Regions from separate parts of the Homo sapiens genome. Here all the other regions are linked to region 1. Evidence: promoter capture Hi-C in human tissues and cell types (Jung and others, 2019). All regions are on one chromosome and are shown on one strand. Each heading gives the region's core, a stretch centred on a gene start or on the middle of the fragment in contact. The rest is flanking DNA. Distances are from core to core; before and after follow the strand shown.

The links. The method cuts DNA at HindIII sites, captures the fragments that hold promoters and counts their contacts. A contact is called where the count stands out against the background at its distance.
Region 2: a contact is called between a fragment that was not itself captured here and the fragment with the promoter of KIAA1671 in region 1, in 4 of the 25 tissues and cell types used here (dorsolateral prefrontal cortex, liver, mesendoderm cells and 1 more).
Region 3: a contact is called between a fragment that was not itself captured here and the fragment with the promoter of KIAA1671 in region 1, in 3 of the 25 tissues and cell types used here (bladder, dorsolateral prefrontal cortex and mesendoderm cells).

The regions. Positions count from the first base shown.
Region 1 is chr22:24,951,237-24,955,052 of GRCh38, reverse strand. It overlaps KIAA1671, which reads right to left and starts at 2,337. Exons shown (of 13, transcript NM_001145206.2): 1 at 2,281-2,337. RefSeq lists a silencer at 2,271-2,520. The HindIII fragment of the contact is 5,810 bases long and covers 102-3,816 here.
Region 2 is chr22:25,116,005-25,119,448 of GRCh38, reverse strand. All of the region lies in intron 6 of KIAA1671, which reads right to left. Among named protein-coding and RNA genes, the nearest start is that of KIAA1671-AS1, 5.0 kb to the right of the region's middle. The HindIII fragment of the contact is 3,704 bases long and covers 142-3,444 here.
Region 3 is chr22:24,766,475-24,769,951 of GRCh38, reverse strand. All of the region lies in intron 1 of PIWIL3 (piwi like RNA-mediated gene silencing 3), which reads left to right. Among named protein-coding and RNA genes, the nearest start is that of PIWIL3, 6.5 kb to the left of the region's middle. The HindIII fragment of the contact is 8,444 bases long and covers 1-3,477 here.

The sequences.
Region 1 (3,816 bases), core at 1,088-3,587:
TCCTAGCACTTTGGGAGGCGGAGGCAGGAGGATCACCTAAGGTTAGGAGTTTGGGATCAGCCTGGCCAACATGGTGAAACCCTATCTCTACTAAAAATACAAAAATTAGCCGGGCAGAGTGGCGGGCATCTGTAATCCCAGCCACTCTGGAGGCTGAGGCCGGAGAATTGCTTGAACCCGGGAGGCAGAGGTCGCAGTGAGCCGAGATCGCGCCATTGCACTCTAGCCTGGGCTGCAGAGCGAGACTCCATCTCAAAAAACAAAATAAAACAAAACAAAACAAAACAAACGAAAAAAAGCAGCCCCTAGGACCTCCAGTGGGGGTAGGGGCAGCTTCCAGCCTCTGAACCTAGGGTGAGAACTGTATCCCCAACATCAAGAATCAGTACTAGACTGCAGGGCAAGCCGACTGCTCCATAGCTGGAAAGTAACTCCAAGAGGACAAATCCTGAGTTGCCCTAGGCCACACCATTTCTACAGTGCTCCTGACATAGGTGCTCAATACACGCTGGTTGATGGAGCCAGCCAGTTCATGTGCCCAGCTGAAATGTATGTCCAGACACTGCATTGAAACTCTGCACTTCTCTTGGGTAATTGCACCCTTGTCAAGCATGCAAATCCTTTAAAAAGGATCCCCCTGCCAGAACCACCAAGATCTGGGCTTGTGTCTGTACAAATTCCTCGGGAACTGTCCCTGGCTGCAACAGGAAGGAAGGAGGCGCCAGAGTCTGGGGGTGCACACGTTTGTCCAGGAACCTTGATGGATTAGCAGAGGGAAAGCCAGACCAAGGGAGAAGCTTTGTCCAAATGTCTTGGTTACTCATTAGCCAAACCTCAGAGCTTCTCTCTGCAAGGGGGGATCAGAGGGGCAATTAACCCATTTGGAAGAAAGGTTAAGCTAAATAGCTCTCTAATCCTGCGGTTTCAAAAGATAGCAAGTAGGGTTTCTGGAATCTTTAGATACTGTAAGGCAAGCACAGGGGATGGGGCACGGGAAAGGAGAGGCCATAGACTGAGGGAGGCACTGATACTTATAGAGCCCCTACCTGTTTCATACCCTTCATTCCGATCCATCCTAGGCCAAGCCCATTTTGCCCAGAGGGTCCCCATCTGGATTCAGATAGGTTAAGTGTTTTGCCCAAGGTCACAAAAAAGGTGCAAAGAAAGTGTTTTTCTTTGTGCAACAGGTACAGTCCTTTCCCTTCCAAAAGATAATGGCTGCTCCTGGCTAGAGAAAGTTCAGTCCCGGCAGGCAGGAAGCCCTAGCCACCTAGGCGTCGCGCGGTGGAGGTCACACGCCTGCTCCGGGACTGGACAAACAGCAGGGTTTTAAGGCGCGGCGTCCCCACTCCCAGGCGAGTTTGTGCCAGCAGGGTGTGAAAAGGTCAGGCTCGGGTGGGGGTCAACGAGCCGCTTCCCATCCCGAGGGCCCCACCCGTGAGCCCGGGTGGGCCGCGCCGCCATCGGGGCGGGGACCACGCGGGCCTGCCTGGTAACAGGGGGACTGAGGCTTAATCCCATCAGGGCGCCTCCGCCCTGGGAAGACGAGCGGAGGGGGGGCGCAGGCCAGGCCGAGAGGACGTGTCCGGAGCCTCCGCGTCCGAGGGGCCCCGCGCGCCGCCCCTCTCACGCCCCCCGAACCACCGCGCTGTCCTCCGGGCTCCCCTCGACCAGGGTTCCGTCTCGCTCGCCGCCCTTGCTTCCCACTTCCACCTCCGGGGCCTCCAACCCGCACAAATGTCCAGACCCTAGCAGCTCCAGGCTGAGTAACCCAGATCTCCAGCGATCCCTCAGCTCCTAGCCACGGGATCTCTCTGAATCCATTCCCAAGGCTCAGGCTGGCATGGGAGGAGATTGATCCTCTCGCTCCCAGTCTCGAATCACCCTTCGCCGTCACCCCTGACTGGGGATCCAGTGGGACCCCAGGCCTCCAGCGCCCGATCCCCTCCAGGGATCGACTCCCAAGTCGCCAACCAGGTGGCACGTGATCCATTGGTTGCCCTGTGCGGGATCTTCCCGCGGGATCCACTCTCAAGTCTCGGGAGACGGATTCCCCGGCTCCCAAACCGGGATCCTCCCTCCCTGCAGACCCGGAGTCTGGGGAAATCCTCCGGCTCCCCGCCTCTTCCCCGGCCAACTTTGCCAACTTTTCTCCCGGGGCCTCGGCCGGGCAGAAACTTGGCGGCCCTCGCCAGCCGCCGTCACCCCCAGCTACCTCGTCGGCCGGGGACAGGAGGCGGCCAGCCGGCCCCCACTGCCCGCAGCCGCTGCGCAACCTACCGTGGAGCCACCGCCAGCCCGCGCCGCGCCGCCACCTGCCCGCAGCCCGCGGCACCTGCCCTGGGAGCCCGCAGCCCCGCGCAGCCTAGCCTGCTGGGGGCGGGGCCTCGAGCGGGGACGCGCCCCCGTCACCATGGGAACTGCCGCCGGCCGCGCCTGCGCGGAGGGGAGCAGAGCAGGCAGGACCCGAGTCCGCAGTGGCGCCTGGGCCTGGGACCTCTCCGGCGGGTCAGAGGTCACGACTCGCTTGGACACCCCTGCCGGAAGCGCTCCCGCCCCTCGAGGCCCGACCCCGCTCTGTCCAATTGGGAACTTTGCTCCGGGTACCCTCCCGCGTTCCCTGGATGTTCCCCAGTCACCAGCCAGGATCCCCCGCCACCGGCACCGACCCGCTGCCCAGCCGGCGACCCCGAGAGCCTAATGCAACCCAGGATTTCAGGAGGCGCTCCATAAATGTGGGCCCACTGACTTGCCTGGGCTGCTGGTGCCGGCCCGGGGGCGGGCAAGGTCTGTGCGCGGTGCTGGCGCCTCCTCGCGCCAAGCAAGGGCACTGCACCTGAGAGTTCGCTGGAGCGCCTACTGTGTGCGCATCCTCCTGCCATTATGTTGTGGGTGTGAGTTGTGGGGTAATGGGTACAGGAACTTGTGGACAAGTTGAGAGAATCGTAGGAAGTCGCCTCTGAAAGAGAAAATACCTGTTCTGTTATCCGTTACTCATTTCATTCAGCAGATCTTTATTAAGCACCTATTGCATGCTGGGTGCTGGAGAACCCAGTGGTGGGCAGCTGGCAAAATCCAGGCTGTTGTGCAGCTTACAGATATTCAAACAAATAATTTCACGAGTATATCAAATTGAATCTGTGACATGTGCTCCTATGGGAAATGTACAGAGCATGAATAACTGGAGGACCTAAAATCAATGTGCCTTTATTATAAGCAAGATAGACCTCAATAAAAAAAGAGAAAGAAAAGGACATCACAGGCTGCGCACGGTGGCTTGTAATCCCAGCATTTTGGGAGGCCGAGGCGGGTGGATCACCTGAGGTCATGAGTTTGAGACCAGCCTGGCCAACGTGGTGAAACCTCGTCACTACTAAAAATTACAAAAATTAGCTGGGCGTGGTGGCGGATGCCTGTGATCCCAGCTACTCGGGAGGCTAAGGCAGGAGAATGGCTTGAACCCGGGAGGTGGAGATTGCAGTGAGCCAAGAGCGCGCCACTGCACTCCAGCCTGGACGACAGAGCAAGACTCCATCTCAAAAAAAAAAAAAAGAAAAAGACATCACATTGTGTGGCTTCAGGAGGATTGGTGGGGAGACTTCTTGCCTCATTTTGCTCTTAAATTGTTGGGTGTGTGTAAGAAACAAGGGTAGCTCCTGTTCTCCACACCGTTTGCACTGCAACCCTTTTGAAGGTCTGATCATCACCATCAGACCCAGGCAGGGTAAACCCTGTTTACCAAACAGCAGCCCGAGAACCCCCAACTGACTTGTGTACAGTGCTGGAACCCAGGAATTGGGGGGCAGAGGTCCCATG
Region 2 (3,444 bases), core at 744-3,243, 160 kb before region 1:
AATGAATGAGTGGTTTTTATTACCATTATACTTCAGATTTTCCATCCTGCCCTCTACAGGGAAAGAACTCCAGGCCTCCCTGGACTAGAATCCTGGCGTCAACTCTGAGATCAGATGAGACTGGGAGCATTCAGGGTGATGTGGCCGTACACTTCTTGTCATCTCTTAAGAGGTGTACACCAGGGCTGTGTCACTTATCCTCTCCAGGCCTCAGTTTACCCATCTATAATATGGAGGTGGTGTCACAGGGTGGACACAAGAATGAAGGACAGTGGATTTCAGGAAGGCAGATACTCTGTGAGCTCCTAGCCACTGTTCTGGGTACTGGCAATATCAAGGTGAACCAGGACGGCCAAAGCCCTGGCCCTCATGGACCTTACATCCTAGTAGAGGAGTCAGAGAATAAACCAGGGAACAAGTGACATGAAATAAGTATAGAATGAGATAGGTCCCAGGAAGAAATGTAGGATGGGTGCAGGGAAACGCAGGGAGTTCACCACAGCCTGGAACGTCGGGAAGCCTCTCTGCAGAGGTGAAGAGAGGGCAAGGGCATTTCAGCAGAGGGAATGGTGATGGCAAAGTCCTGGCGTCTGGAAGGAGCAGGGGGTGACTGACGAAGAGCAGGAGGTCAGAGGGGCAAGGTCAGAGTGAGCATAAAGGACAGAGGTAGGAGCTGATGTTAGCAGGGAGGCAGGGCCAGGTCGCACAGGAAAACTGGGCATCTAAGTCTGGGGTGAGGCAGGGGAATGACCTGATCTCTTGGGTTGTTGGGAGGAGAATGGACTGGATGGGAGGGGCCAGAGTGTAAGCTGTGGGGAGTGTGTGGGGGGCTGACAGTGGCCCCTAAAAAGATACGTTGGCTGGATGCAGTGTCTCACGTCTGTAATCCCAGCACTTTGGGAGGCTGAAGTAGGTGGATCCCTTGAGCCCAGAAGTTTGAGACTACCTTGGGCAACAAGGTAAAACTCTGTCTCTATTAAAAATACAAAAAAATTAGGTAGGTGTGGTGGTGTACACCTGTAGTCCCAGCTACTTGGGAGGTTGAGGTGATCATCCTAGGTGAGATCATCCTAGGTAATCCAGGAGGCTCCCATGTTCAGGGACAAGTGTCCTTACCAGAGACAGGAAAGGAGATGACAGAGAAGAGGAGATAGTGACATGAAGATAGAGGCAGAGATTGGGGTGATGTGGCCACAAGCCAAAGAATGCCTGGAACCACCAGAAGCTGGAAGAGGTGAGAAAGGATGCTCCCCTAGAGCCTCTGGAGGGAGGCGTTGACTGCTGACATTTTTTTTTTTTTTTTTTTTTTTGAGACAGAGTTGCATTCTTGTTGCCCAGGCTGGAGTGCAATGGTGTGATCTCGACTCACTGCAACCTCCACCTCCCGGGTTCAAGCAATTCTCCTGCCTCAGCCTCCTGAGTAGCTGGGATTACAGGCATGCGTCACCACACTGGGCTAATTTTGTATTTTTAGTAGAGATGGGGTTTCTCCATGTTGGTCAAGCTGGTCTTGAACTCCCGATCTCAGGTGATCCGCCCGCCTCGGCCTCCCAAAGTGCTGGGATTACAGGTGAGTCACCACACCCGGCCGACTGCTGACATTTTGATTTTGGACTTCTGGACTCCGGAACTGTGAGAGATGAAGTTATATTAATTTAAGCCACCAAGTTTGTGGTAATTTGTTACAGAGCCGGAGGACCCCAGTAGGGAGAGAGTACTGATGGAGATGGGGCTGAAATGCAGCTTCTGAAGGCAGGAGTTCTATACATCCTTTCCTTGCAATTCTCCCCCACTTGCTGAAGCAGTGTGTCTGTGTGTGTGTGTGTGTGTGTGTGTGTGTGTGTGTGTGTGTGTGTGTGTGTGGTTGGGGGAGATGCTGAGCCCTGCTGAATATTTTAAGCCTCCATTACAGTCCATAATTAACACAGAAGCAAATACTCCCACTCGGCCTTGGGCTGGAGGACTGAACGCTCAGCTCTGGGGCCGATGTTTAATAGTGAATCCCCAGTGCAGGGTGTGGTCATGCTCCCAGCAAGGCCGACACATGCTGGATGGAGTCCCCACTTCATGGATCCCCAGTCCTGTGACTTCCCCTCTCTGTGCTTCAGATTTCTCCATTCACAAAGTATGGGGCTATACCCCACAGGGGCAGCTGTGTGGTTCCTGGCAAGCAGGAGAGGCTCATGGATGTGGGATCCCTGCCCTTCTCCCCATATTTAAGTCACTGGGAGAATATACCCCAGCTACAATTATTGTGCCCCACACCACATTATATACGACAGTGTTCTCAAACCTGGATGGGGGCTGGGAGGGGGCATTGTGATTCTGCCCCCAAGAGACTTGGCAATGTCTGGATATTTTTGGTTGTCACAACTGTGGGATGCTACTGGCTTCTAGTGGGTAGGAACCAGGGATAAGCTTACAATGCACAGACTCTACCCCTTACCCCCCACAGCCATAAACAATTATGTAGCCCAATATATCATTAGAGCTGAGGCTGAGAAACTCTAATATACAGCAATAGTTTGAGGTTAAAGACAGACCCTTGATATTTTAAGATAGTTCTCTCATTTTCAGCACATATATGACATATTTACATTCTGATGTGTTTTATTATCAGCCTCACTAGAAGGCAGCTCTGTGAAGGCAGGAGTTTTGTCTCTTTCGTTCACAGCCATTTCTCCTGCACCAGAGTTGTGGTAGATACTCAGTAAATACTGACTGAGGGGGCCAGGTGTGGTGGCTCACACCTGTAATCTCAGCACTTTGGGAGGCTGAGGTGGGTGGATCACCTGAGGCCAGAGTTCGAGACCAGCCTGGCCAACATGGTGAAACCCTGTCTCTACTAAAAATACAAAAATTAGCCGGGTGTGGTGGAACACGCCTGCAGTCCCAGCTACTCAGGAGGCTGAGGCAGGAGAATTGCTTGAACCCAGGAGGCGGAGGTTGCAGTGAGCCAAGACTGCACCATTGCACTCCAGCCTAGGGGACAGAGCAAGACTCCATCTCAATACGTACATACATACATACATACATACATACATACATACATACATACATACATACTGGTGGAGGGGGTGGGGTACAGTGGCTCATGCTTGCAATCCCCACACTTTGGGAGGCTGAGGTGGGAGGATCACTTGAGGCCAGGAGCTCAAGACCAGCCTGGGCAACATAGCAGGACCCTGTCTCTACACAAAAGAAAAAAAATGGCTGGGTGTGGTGGCACATGCCTGTAGTCCCAGCTATTCCAGAGGTGAGAGGATGGCTTGAACGCAGGGTATCGAGGCTGTGGTGAGCTATGATCGTGCCACTCCACTCCAGCTCCAGTGACAGGGCAAGACCTTGTCTTCAAAATAAGTAAATGAAAATAGGCTGGGCACAGTGGCTCATGCCTGTAATCCCAGCACTTTAGGAGGTTGAAGCGGGTGGATCACTTGAGGT
Region 3 (3,477 bases), core at 764-3,263, 180 kb after region 1:
CAGGTCTCATGTGGCCCAGGACAGCTTAGAATGTGGCTTTGAATTTCGTAAACTTTCTTAAAACATTATGAGATATTTTGGGGATTTTTTTTTCTTTTAGCTCATCAGCTATCATTAGTATTGGTGTATTTATTATTATTATTATTATTATTTTTGAGACAGAGTTTTGCCGTTGTTGCCCAGGCCAGAGTGCGGTGGCACAATCTCGACTCACTGCAACCTCTCTCTCCAGGATTCAAGCGATTCTTCTGCCTCAGCCTCCCAAGTAGCTGGGATTACAGGTGTGTGCTAACATGCCCAGCTAATTTTGTTTTTTGTTTGTTTGTTTGTTTTTGTTTTTCAGACGGAGTCTCGCTCCGTCTCCCAGGCTGGAGTGCAATGGCACGATCTCGGCTCACTGCAAGCTCTGCCTCCCAGGTCCACGCCATTCTCCTGCCTCAGCCTCCCAAGTAGCTGGGACTACAGGTGCCCGCCACCACACCTGGCTAATTTTTTATATTTTTAGTAGAGAGGGGGTTTCACCATGTTAGCTAGTATGGTCTCGATCTCCTGACCTTGTGATCCACCCGCCTCGGCCTCCCAAGCTGCTGGGATTATAGGCATGAACTATGGCGCCTGGCCGTGTTAGTGTATTTTATGTGTAGCCCAAAACAATTCTTCCAATGTGGCCCGGGGAAGTCAAAAGATTGGACATTCCTGCTTTAAACAACACAACATAACAACTACTTACAAAGTATTTACATGGTATTAGGTATCATAAATAATCTAGTGATGATTTAAAGGTATACAGGAGGATGTGCATAGGATGTATACAAATACAACACCATTTTGTATCAGGGACTTGAGCATCCACAGATTTTGGTATCAGCGGTAGACTGTGGAACCAATCCCTGTGGATACCCAAGGAGGACTGTATAGTTGGCCTCGTTTTTATTAACCTAAGACAATAGCACCACCTTGCGGCTCTTTGTCCCAGGCACAGACAAGCTGAGCCCATGGAACAAAAATGAGCCTTCCACAGATGGTGAAGAGGAAACCTTGTCTCATGGCCAAGGCTGAGGCTGGAGCAGGGAGAAAAACCATATTTGTTCACATAAACATTCCAGGCTCAGACATGCTCATCTCCTTGAGAATAAAGTTTGTTTCTGAGAAACTATTGTCCAAGCTGTCAGCCCCTAGAAGAGGAACAGAAAATGAAATCTCTCTCCTTGGGCCTCCTCCACCTGCAGAGTTGCGTTCTTGGGGCAGAGAATGCTGTCTGTTCACAGTGGCTGGCAGGACAGTGAGGCTTTGGCCCTGTCACCCATAGAGGTAAGGGCTGAGGGAGACATTGCTGTCAGCCACAGACCTTCCTGCTTCTTGTTTTCCTTTGATGTCTGCAGAATGAAAAAGGGAAAACAGGCCAGGCGTGGGGGCTCACGCCTGTAATCCCAGCATTTTGGGATGCTGAGGCGGGTGGATCACGAGGTCAGGAGTTCAAGACCATCCTGGCCAAGATGGTGAAACCCTGTCCCTACTAAAAATACAAAAATTAGCCGGGCATGGTGGTGTCCTCTGTAATCCCAGCTACTTGGGAGGCTGAGGCAGGAGAATCACTTGAACTTGGGAGGTGGAGGTTGCAGTGAGCCGAGATTGTGTCACTGCACTCACTCCAGCCTGGGCAACAGAGCAAGACTCCATCTCAAGAAAAAAAAAACACAAAAAACAAACAACAACAACAAAAAACAACAACAAAAAAAGAAAAAGGGAAAACAAAATATAGGATTCTTTTTGTGATGGTCACAAAACAGTGGCAAATGTCAGCTCTGTGCAGTCCCCAATAAGAGTTTTGCACTGATGAAGCCATCAGCCATTGGAAACAGCAATTTGTCCTCAGAAAAGTAGTTGCAGGAGAGTCTATCAGACCTGACAGTGAATGTGAGCACTCTTTTTACCTTCCTTCCCCAGAGTGAGAAATGATGGACAGGAATTTTTCTTTCCTGACTCAGTTTGCAGGCTTTTGGCCTGTGAGCTTGGGGATGAACCCAGGTGAGGGGCAAAGGAGGTTGGCTCTGGGGATAGGTAGGCTTGCCTTCTAATCCCACTTCTGTCACTTGCTGACTGTGTGACCTTGGGCAAGTCACTGTCCTTTCAGTTTGAATATTATGCCTAGAGTATAATTTTTGGTATTTATCTTGCTTAGTGTTCTATGAACTTCCTGGATCTGTGATTTAATTCTGTTTTTAATTTTGGAAAATTTTCGGTCATTATTATTTCAAATACTTCTCCTGTTCCTTTCTCTCTTTCTTTCCTTATGATATTCCCATTATGCATGTTACACCTTTTATAGTTATCCCAGTTCTTGGGACGTATTCTGCTTTGTCTTTTTATTCCTTTTTCTCTTTGCCCTTTTTTTTTTTTGAGACAGAGTTTCGCCTTTGTTGCCCAGGCTGGAGTGCAATGGCTCGATCTCAGCTCACTGCAACCTCCACCTGCCAGGTTCAAGCAATTCTCCTGCCTCAGTCTCCCAAGTAGCTGGGATTACAGGCACACATCACCACACCTGGCTAATTTATTTATTTATTTATTTATTTTTTTTAGTAGAGACGGGGTTTCACCATGTTGTCCAGGCTGGTCTCGAACTCCTGACCTCAGGTTATCCGCCCACCTCAGCCTCCCAAAGTGCTGGGATTGCAGGCCTGAGTCACCCCGCCCAGCTGGCCAGGAATTTTCAAGTGCTTAGCAGGTTCAGGCTTTTCAAATCTTTAGGATATTTTCAAGATGTAGTAAACAAATAGTTACTGCTGCACCATAGACAGTGCAGAATTTTTTGAGACAGAGTCTCACTCTGTCACCCGGGCTGGAGTGCAGTGGTATGATCATAGTCCACTGCAGCCTTGAACTCCCAGGCTCAAGCGATCCTCCTGTCCTCCTGCCTCAACCTCCCAAGCACCAGGGACTACAGGTGTGCACCACCATCCTAGTTAATTTTTTAATTTTTTTTTTTTTTAGAGACGGTGTCTTGATGTTGCCCCGGCTAGTCTTGAACTACTGGGCTCAAGCAATCCTCCTGCCTCAGCCTCCCAAAGTGCTGGGATTACAGGCATGAAACTCTGTGCCTGGCCAACAGTGCACAACTGAGTCTGGAATTCAAGCTGAGAACGCATGCAGATTTCTATAGGATAATGGTGCAATTTCAAAGCAGTAAGACAAAGATTAGTTAAGAAACCGTGCCAGATAACTAACTATTTCTCTCATAATTGACAGGCATTCAATGTGTACATCAAGGATCTGGATGTAACTGTGATAAAATATTAAAGAATTGGTGATTTTTAAAAAATATCTAGGCTAGGCCAGGCGCGGTGGCTCACGCCTGTAATCCCAGCACTTTGGAAGGCTGAGGCAGGCGGATCACAAGGTCAGGAGATCAAGACCATCCTGGCTAACATGGCGAAACCCCGTCTCTACTAAAAAAAATACAAAAAAATTAGCCAGGCC